Regions from separate parts of the Homo sapiens genome. Here region 2 is linked to region 1. The links are contacts of gene promoters, found by promoter capture Hi-C in human tissues and cell types (Jung and others, 2019). All regions are on one chromosome and are shown on one strand. The core of a region is centred on a gene start or on the middle of the fragment in contact, and the rest is flanking DNA. Distances in the headings are between cores, read along the strand shown. Region 1 holds the start of NAV3 (neuron navigator 3). Region 2 overlaps E2F7 (E2F transcription factor 7).

Region 1 (4,917 bases), core at 1,611-4,110:
ACCTTGCACTCATCCTCCAAGCCCACATGTGACTCGATTTTTCCGGAACCAAGGCGAGAACCCAGAATACAGAAAGCCCTCTGCCCTTGCAATAAGGCAGAGGGTCTAACTGAGCTGATTAACACAAGCCACCTTCATACTGCAAAACTAAAAGAACACACTGTAACACACGCCCACTGGAGCTTCAGGAGCTGTAAATACTCAACCCTAGATGCTGCTGTAGGGTCGAAGCTCCACACCCTGCCCATCTGCATGATCCCTCTAGAGGTTTCAGCAGCGGGGCATTGAAGACGTAAGCCACTCCTGCTGTCACATGCCCTGTGAGGGGGACAAGGAAACATTTCCTGTTTCGAAATGATTCCAAAAGATGAACAAACTTAACTGAATCCTTCTCGGAATAACTATTTATTCATTCATTGATTCATTAATTGCTGTATTCATTCATCCAACTACTATTTAATTCTTATCATGCATAAAGCATTGTACAGGGAGAGAGCTGGAACACAGGATAAGATACGAGACCTGCCTTCTATATGTTTTCAACTTAGTGGAGATACAAATAAATTATCCAGATAATTAAAAGAAATTATCCAGATAATTAAAATACACAAGCATTTCTACAGAAAAAGAATTGGGAAGGAGGAATGGTGGGGAAGGGATAGCTAGCAAAGACTTTATGAATAAAGTTGGATCTGGGATAAAGCTTAAAGGATCTGAACAGGTGAAGGTGGGATGGGCATTGTAGAAAAAGGAGTGGCTTTCTTTTTCACTTCTAGAGTTGATTTTTGTATAAAGGTTTTTTCCTTAAATTATTTTAAACTAACATTTGGATAGCAGAGTAAAATGAAAATATTTCCTAAGAAGCCAGAGACGAGGCTGTGACTTTGGAAAGCTTGACATCATAGTTAATGCTGCATTAAAAAGTGATGCTGAGTAGAATGATGGTTACCAGAGGCTGGAAAGGGTAGTGGCGAGGGGTAGGGGGAGTGTGGATCGTTAATGAGTACAAAAATACATTTAGATAGAATGAATAAGATCTAGTATTTGATAGCACTATAGGATGATTACTGTCAACAATAACTTATTCTATATTTTTAAATAACTAAAAGAATATATAATGTTTGCAACACAAAGACATGATAAATGCTTAAGGCAACAGATACTCCATTTACCCTGATATGATTATTACACATTGTATGCCTGTATCAGAATCTCTCATGAACCACATAAATATATACACCAATATGTACCCATAAATATATACACCTAATATGTACCAATAAAAGTAAAAATGCACAAAACAAAAGTGACGCTTATCAAGGTACAAATGAATCCGCATGAAGTTCAGCAGCTTCAGTGCCATTCTAGCATGCGTGACTGGAGAAAACGGTTGTAGTATGCTTTAGAAACCAAGGGCTATGAGCAACTACTCACAAAATATCATAAATTAAATGACTGAAAAAGATGTCAGTAATAAGTAAAAGAGTAGCGTTTCAGTTTACAAGGGAAAGTCCATATAAATGTGCAGTATCAAGGAAAATAGTATGTCATTTTCCTTCATACTGCAATGAATTAAGCAGCCTATGATACAAATTTTCAAGCAGAAATTCTTTGAAATGCAAATGACATTTAGAGAAAAGTGATGGTGTCTATATGAATTATTACAAATAAATGTCTTTTTGAAAGTACCTATTTTCATACATTGCAGTATGGATGACAATAGGTTCTCTTTTTCTCACATTTGTGACTGATTATGATTATTAGTAATAGAGCAATATCTAGAACTAACTAGGCATTCATCAATAAGTAGTATTAAATGATTACAATAGATGCATATTCAGAAAATTTTGATCATGACTTTTACAACTCTAAACTAAGAATACAGTGTTTACATAAGCTAAATATTCAGCTTTTCAGCCATTATAACTACTTACATCCTTACACTGGTATTCCTCTACTACTCCCCATTTCATAACATGTTTTATAGTGCACTTAAAGAGAAATGTGCATTTTAGCTACACAAGTCTGCAGGTAACTTCAGCAACTAACCTTGCTGTCTTCTTTCTCCTTGGCTTTTCCTTGGAGGGGTTTCTTCTCTCCAAATTCACAGGTTGATTTTAACGCAAGCTGACAAGAAAGCATGGAGCTCTCTGTTTCAGTAAGTTCCAAAGGTCTTGAAGAACAGTGCTGTGACCCAGTAGTGCCAAGATTTGGTATCGGAAGAGCAGTATGCACAGGCTTTGACCCAACAGCTGGCTGCCTCAGTTTTGAGGCAACCCCAAGAACAGGCATGGCTTCTATAAAATTATCTTCTTGCTGCCAAAGAAAATGCTTCTAACCTCAGTCTGGTAGACTCCAACTTTAGTATTTCCAGAACAAATACTTTAAACAAAACTAGCAGTCATCCTGATTTTTAAAAAGCTAATAATATAATTTTCAGGAAGAGGCAAAACTTCCCTGCATCTTTAGTTAAGTATCTTTTCTTTCTTGCTGGCTGGGATTCATATTCATTCTCATTCTCTCTCTCTCTCTCTTTCTCTCTCTCTCTCTCTCTCTCTGTCTCTCTCTCTCTCTCTCTCTCTCTGTCTCTCTCTCTCTCTCTGTTCAGTGACTCAGTATCTAAGTAATACTAAATACTCCTTTGGGGAGTAAACTCTTCTTCAAGGTAACTGCTACAAAGCTCCTTCTTAGGATTAAAGAGCTCTTAGTTTTGCTTATTTTTTTTTCTCACTAAAGCAGTCTGAGTCTGAACTTTGAGATTGAAAAAGAGGAAAAAATCAAAAGGAAAAGCCCTTCAGTCCAACTGTCAGAGCAGCCAAAAGACCACAACAGTGGAAGGACAGGGGTTCTTCCTGATTTCAGAAATAGCCAGCCTGCATTCTCTTTTTAAAGAAAATTGTATTTCCCCCAGCTCAGAAAAAATAAAAAGAATGGACATGTTAATGGCCAAAACAAACAGCTGTTGGAAGAACTTTTAGCCCGGAAACAATCTCAGCAATAAAGTTGTTTGTCTGATTTCCAGCTATTTTTCACTACTGACAGCCATGAGCCACGATGTTCATTCTGTTGCATCCCATGAAATCAGGCTAAAATCATGCAATAGTGCAACTAGCTAAAGCAGTTAAATCATTCATCGGACCATAGCTGCCTAGGTTATGAAAATAGAGTAAACACAGGAAGCAGGGCACTAAATATGTAGTAATCATTGTTCCCAAATTTAATAAGTCATGATTATAAAAACATTCAAAGCTAACACTTATGTGGAATGTATTACAAAGCAGTTATGGAGCTAAGCATTTTATGCATTATCACATTTAATCATTGGAATGACTCAAAGTATAGGCATATTTATTTTCTTCACTTTATAGAAAGAACAGCTATGACTTGGAGACACTGAAAAAATTGACTAAAATGATGAAGCTAGAAAGGGGGAAAGAATGTATGATTTTAGTTTGTAAACCTGTCTTTTAAAATGGTTGAAAATAACACTGTTATTCAAGCTTATGACGTCCAACTTAAAATCCCAAGCTTCTAAAAACTGTCCAAACAGATACTCAGTGAGAATGAATGATGATGCTTCCATCCATAGAATTATTTTAATATAATCATAGCATGTTCTATTTCTGGTTAAAGCATGTCAGGAACTTTAAATAAACAAGGGGTAAACTTTTAAGAAAACATCTAATGTACCATGCATTATTGTTCTGAAACTGATTGCACTCAGAAAATGGATACAGAGAGCAATTATATACACCAAATATAAAAATTAGTAATAATGCAACCAAAGGTCTTAGAAAAATGAGTGGTGGACACTTAGTATAGACACAATGAATCATGGAAATTATTAAATCGTAACCATTTTTTATAGAAAATGTCTTTCTTTAGTGAAGAAATGGTCATCTTTGGCCTACTGTTTCCAGGTCTTTAAATCACTACGTACTTTTATCTAAGAAGCAGTAATTTATAGATGAAAGAGCCAATAACTAAAAGTATATGTTCTGCTGATGCAGCATAGAAGACAGGAAATGTAAGTTAGAAGTCTTGCAGGCTTTAAAAATAGTAACCCAAGTGGGCTTTACACAGCGGGGTAATACAAAACAAATACAACACTAGTGGTATCAAAGAAATGAAATAATCTCTCTGAGGAAGTAAGTTATTTTGCAATTTGCAAACCATTCAACACATTATAACTTTCAGAAACTATAAGGTAATACAGAGTTGGAGAGGTTCATGTTCGTAAAATGAGGTTTAGTTCATAATAAGACATATGCAACTTGTAATCCTCACAATGCAAAACAAAACAGCACCTAAATAATAGAACTTGTGGGAAAAATTGATTCTAGGAAGTTCACTCAAAACATATGCAACTTTGGGAGTATATTGCTAGCAAAAATAATATTGGCACCTCAGAAAATAATTTGGACCACTCAAGGAAGTGACTCAGAATTACATAAAAAAATAATTGGGTATAAATGCTGGCAACACTTTAACCAGAATTGGTGGAAGAAATCCGGTTGGAAGGCAAACTCCAAGCCAGTAGGCTTGCCATTGAAATGGGTACAGGGTCAGGGCAACTGCAAATATTTAAGAGCTGCACAAGGCCAGGGGCATGCCCCTTTGAAGAGGAAGCCCCAGATGCAGGCATTCATTTTTGTTTTTGTTTTTAGTTTTCTTAAAACTGAGCCAAAAGGGCTCCTGCTGACTATACAACATTCAAACTGAGGGCTTCTTTGCCCACCCAAGGTTATAATTCTACGCTGACTATTCTGCTTCCCTTTGCCTAGAATAAATTGTATATAAAGCTACACAACTTCTGCATTATACTAGTACAAAATTCCTGTTTGCCAATTACAAATGAGCTCATTGGTATTTTGGAAACATGCATTGGAGGAGAATGTATCGTAATTCCTGGAACAA
Region 2 (4,917 bases), core at 1,079-3,578, 770 kb after region 1:
GTTAAGTGTGCAGGAGGTTTTTAGGAAGTACTCTTGGGATCAATGCCTAGGGAAGGGACAGGAAGGCATGGAATTGGACAGAAGGAAAAGTGGAGCTGCAATACAGTCACAGTGGAAATGACCCTCTGGGGAGTTCTAGGGCAGCCATCAGAGGAGTCCAGAGTTGGGGCAAGGAGGCCTGGCTTTTTTTTTTTTTTTTTTTTTTGAGACAGAATCTCGCTGTCACCCAGGCTGGAGTGCAATGGCATGATCTCAGCTCACTGCAAGCTCTGCCTCCTGGGTTCACGCTATTCTCCTGCCTCAGCCTCCAGAGTAGCTGGGACTACAGGCGCCCGCCACCACGCCCAGCTAATTTTTGTTTTTGTATTTTCAGTAGAGACAAAGTTTCACCGTGTTAGCCAGGATGGTCTCGATCTCCTGACCTCGTGATCCGCCTGCCTTGGCCTCCCAGAGTCCTGGCTTTTATATGTCTGTGCTACTTCTACCAGCCAATGAGTACAGGAGAGGCTTCCCAGGAAGTGGTGTGATCTTGGACAAGTCAGCTGTCTTCAGCCAAAGCAGTCCAGTTATGGGATGACTGTTGGCATTACTTCTAGCAGCTGGGGAATGAGTCATGTCTGAAGAGATCAGGGTACATCCCAGCATCCACTCCACAGCTAAGCAGCCTTGCTAGAAAACCTTGGAGATAGATACTTTCATCTAAATTCCTCATTTTATACCTACGGAAATCTGGGCCCAGACAGAATGAACAGTTATCCAGGATCAAAAAGATACAAACAGCTGGGACACAAATCAGGTTTCCATTGCAGTGCCCTTTCCACAGCCGTATATGCTGTCAGCATAGCAGGACAGACAGATGGAGCAAGGTGTGACTAGATTGCAGTTGACTTTCTGTCCACCTGACACCTTAGAAAACAATTGGGTTGGCATTTTTTTTTCTTGATGTAGAGGTGTAATACAATCATAACCTACCACATGACCTAGCTCCCCTCCTACTTTAAGTATTCAGTAAACTACAGTGAAAATATATCAAAATATATGAAGAAATAATCCATTCTCAGTTGCTCCCTCGCTAAAGTAACTCTTTTGGAAGCAATGGAGAAGGCATGTAAATCTCTGTCCACCCAGCATGCCTGGACCACACCCTCCACCATGAGGATACCTTTTGGAATAACTCATCAAAGCACAGTGTTCTTTGAGTATCTGCAGTGGGCAACGCATTGTGCCAAAAATTGCGATGAACAAGACATGTGGAACTTGCTTCTTGACCTTTTCAAGGGCACAGTCTTGTTACTGAGACAAGACACACATCCTGGAAGTTAAATAGCAATATGATGTGCTGTAGTATATTTAGCTCGAAATGCCAGAGTGAATGGTAATAAAGAATAGAAAAGAGGGAAAAGATAATAGCTAAGTTTTATCGAGCGCTCACTATATGCCAGGAACTAATCTCATAACCCTTGAGATTGGTATTTTTATGAACTTCATTTTCGGTTGAGAGAAATAAAGTATAGTGAGGTACAGGAACTTGCCACACTCACCCCTGCTGATAAGCAGCAGGGGTAGGTTAACTGGCCCTACATCCTGTGTATATAACTATTTCCCCATGCTGCCTCTCGCTAGGTACTAGTGGGGATCAGTGGCCTGCTGGGTACCTTTGGTTGGAGCTGTGGAAAAGATAACTTCCTCCCAGTTTGTGCCCAGGACACAGGCTCATTTTTAAGTGTAGAATTTCAGAAAGTTCTGCCTTCAGCTGTTTCTTGCATACCGATGATTTTACACTGAATGAGGTCATAGGTGACCTCAGCCAAGTTATTTGACTTCTCTGTGCCTCAGTTTCTTCATCTATACAACGGAAAAATATTAGTGCCTATGTCACAGGATTGGATGAGGAGTCAATACATGCAAAATACATGAAACAGAGCGTGGCACATAGTAATCAGTAATTTCCCTTGAGAGTTCACCTGTAGAAGCCTTTATCAGAATAGCACACTAACAGGGACTTGTTAAAAGAGGTGGGTAGATGCAGCATTCTGGGCCGAGTACTTACTGTAGTATGAGAAATCGCCACTTCCACTGACTCCTCTCCTTCCTCTTATACTAGGACCGAATGTTGCCATGGCTAGCATGCAGCTTCTGCTGATCCAAGGAGCAAGAGTTGCCTTGCCTACACAAACTCCAGTTTCTCCCAATATTTTACCTCTTCACACGTTGCTCATTTATAGGAAAACACTTACTGTAACCCCCTGCTCAACCAAAACCCAAGCATTCAGTAGCTATACAGAATGTACAGGGAAGGAGTGACTGAGAACTCATCTACCTTTGTAATTATATGACACACTATTGACTGGAAAGGAATACTACAGAAAGAGCAGAATCTTTCTGTTTTTGAATATTGAATTATCGAATTCTCATATTGAATTTTTGAAACTTTTTTAGGGGAAAGATACGTTTTAATTACTTGTTAGTTCCAAAGGTGGATTCTATATACTTAGTCCTTTTTTACAATGGGCCCATCGTTAGTCTTTTCTTAGAATTATTTAAGACAGTCTACATCAACGGGTGGTCTGGAGGCAGATGGTATTCCACAAACTATCACCAGGGTGCAAAAAATTAAGAACGGAACTTGAGAGTTAAGCACTTAAAAACCTCAGTAGTCTAGATGTGGTGGCTCATGCCTGTAATCCTAGCACTTTGAGAGGCCAAGATGGGATGATTACTTGAAGCCAGGAGTTTGAGATGAACCTTGGTAACATAGTGAGACCCCGATCTCTACAAAAAATTAAAAAAGGCCAGGCCTGGTGTCTCATGCCTGTAATTCTAGCACTTTGGGAGGCTGAGGCAGGAGAATCACTTGAAGCCAGAAGTTCAAGACCAGCCTGGGCAACATGGCAAGACCCCGTCTCCACACAAAATTTTAAAAATTAGCTGGGTGCAGTGGTGTGCACACCACTGTAGTATGCACACCACTGGAAATCCCAGCACTTTGGGAGGCTGAGGTGGGAAGATCACTTGAACCCAGGAGTTTGAGGCTGCAGTTAGCTGTGATCATGCCACTGCCCTCCAGCCTGGGTTACAGAGTGAGACCCTATCTCCAAAAAATAAAATATAAGTATTTGGGTGTAGTGGTGCATGTCTGTGGTCCCAGCTACTTGGGAGGCTAAGGCGAGAAGATTGCACGTGCCCAGGAGTTTGAGGCTATAGTGAATTATGATCACACCACTGTACTCAGGCTGGGCAACAGAGTGAGACCCTATCTTTTAAAAAAAAAAAAAAAGTAAGAAAAATAAACCTCAGTAGCAATTCAGTATTGCCACCATATCTAAGCTTATGATTAGTGGTCTCTTCTTGTTGAAGAAGCTGTGGGTCAGTTTGAGTGACAAACTCAAATGGCAAATCACATCTGGTGGGAGTTGTGTTGCACATTAGTCCTGTGAAGTAAGGTCACATATCAGTTTGCAGGAGTTTGGAAATCTAAAAAAACGAGTCCTTTACCATGGGTAGTTTGAGATGCACTGCTCTGGAGAATGACGTTAGAGAGCTCTCTAGGTTGGCTTAAAATGTGGGATTTTGTTGGATGCTCTTCCATTAACTGGTCCTGCTACTAAGTGCTGTATTAGCACTGGTGCACATTGAACTACAGAAGCATTGTTGCTCTTCACTAGTCAATGCAAACTTGTAAGTAGTGTTTTAAAAAAGGTGACACTTAGAAACAATATGGACTCAACCCACATTGGCCCTCATAGTCCTCATCTGTTATAAACATGCAACAGTAACAGATACGTTGTGATTTCTTTTACAGAGATACCATGAAAGATAGGTGTAAAAGGAGTAGCAGAGTATAATCTACTTCTCATTGGAGCCACTCTTCTATTCCCATGACTACTTTTCGTTAGTCCTATCCTGATACTTTTCAGCCCTAAACATATGGTCCTATTTGTATTTTCAAGTCTTAGTGAATGGTGGGAACAAAGTATACTCTTAGCTGATACCTGCCCTTTCTCATTCTTGCTAAAAGTTTCTTTTTTAAAATAGGAAAATATATTTGTTGATCGATCAAGGATGGCCCCGAAGACTCCAATAAAAAATGAACCAATTGATTTATCGAAGCAAAAAAAATTTACTCCAGAAAGAAATCCCATTACTCCAGTTAAGTTTGTTGACAGACAGCAAGCGGAACCATGGACACCCACAGCTAACCTGAAGATGCTCATTAGTGCTGCCAGCCCAGATATAAGGGACCGGGAGAAGAAAAAGGGACTATTCCGACCCATTGAAAACAAGGACGATGCATTTACAGATTCTCTACAGGTAAACAGACTGTGCTCCTCAGGGATTTTTTAGAACTTAAACAATTTTACTTGATTATTAAAAAATCATAGAACTGTCAACTTTTCAGCTCCTATTGAGCCAAAAGCAGTGGCAAACTGAATATCTTTTGATTTGTAGTAGAATTCTCATTCTATCTTATTTTTCATAATGAATGCTTTCTTTTCTGTATGATACTCCCTGGACCAGGGCTCATTTAAAAATGATAAATTATTTTAAAGTAATGATATTTAATCATTTTTATTTAATGAAGGAATTTGGATTCTTTAAATGCTGCTGTGAATTTTAATTTTGCCCAGATTTTAGGGATAATGTTAATGTAAATATTTTTGATTTAGGAAATTCCATTATTCTTATATATGTTCAGTTGGTTAGTTTGGGGCTTTATTGAAGTTAAGCCATCTTTAAATTACCTGTTCTGTGGGGAACCAGTGCTGTTGAATAAGCAGCATGTCTATACTTCGTTAAAAAAAAAAAAAAAGGTAATTATTTTCACTTCCCATCAAGCTTTTTCTCAGACTTCCTAAGAAAAGTTTTGCAGATTTCAGTATTCTTAACCATTTTTCTCTTTTTGGCGGATTTTTCAAG

The links. Contacts are between HindIII fragments. The study calls those that stand out against the background at their distance.
Region 2: a contact is called between a fragment that was not itself captured here and the fragment with the promoter of NAV3 in region 1, in 1 of the 25 tissues and cell types used here (heart left ventricle).

Annotation. Positions count from the first base shown.
Region 1 is chr12:77,828,837-77,833,753 of GRCh38, reverse strand. It overlaps NAV3 (neuron navigator 3), which reads right to left and starts at 2,860. Exons shown (of 40, transcript NM_001024383.2): 1 at 2,050-2,860. The coding sequence starts at 2,292. The HindIII fragment of the contact is 9,569 bases long and covers 1-4,917 here.
Region 2 is chr12:77,055,249-77,060,165 of GRCh38, reverse strand. E2F7 (E2F transcription factor 7) reads left to right here. Exons shown (of 13, transcript NM_203394.3): 3 at 4,036-4,311. Among named protein-coding and RNA genes, the nearest start is that of E2F7, 7.9 kb to the left of the region's middle. The HindIII fragment of the contact is 7,431 bases long and covers 1-4,917 here.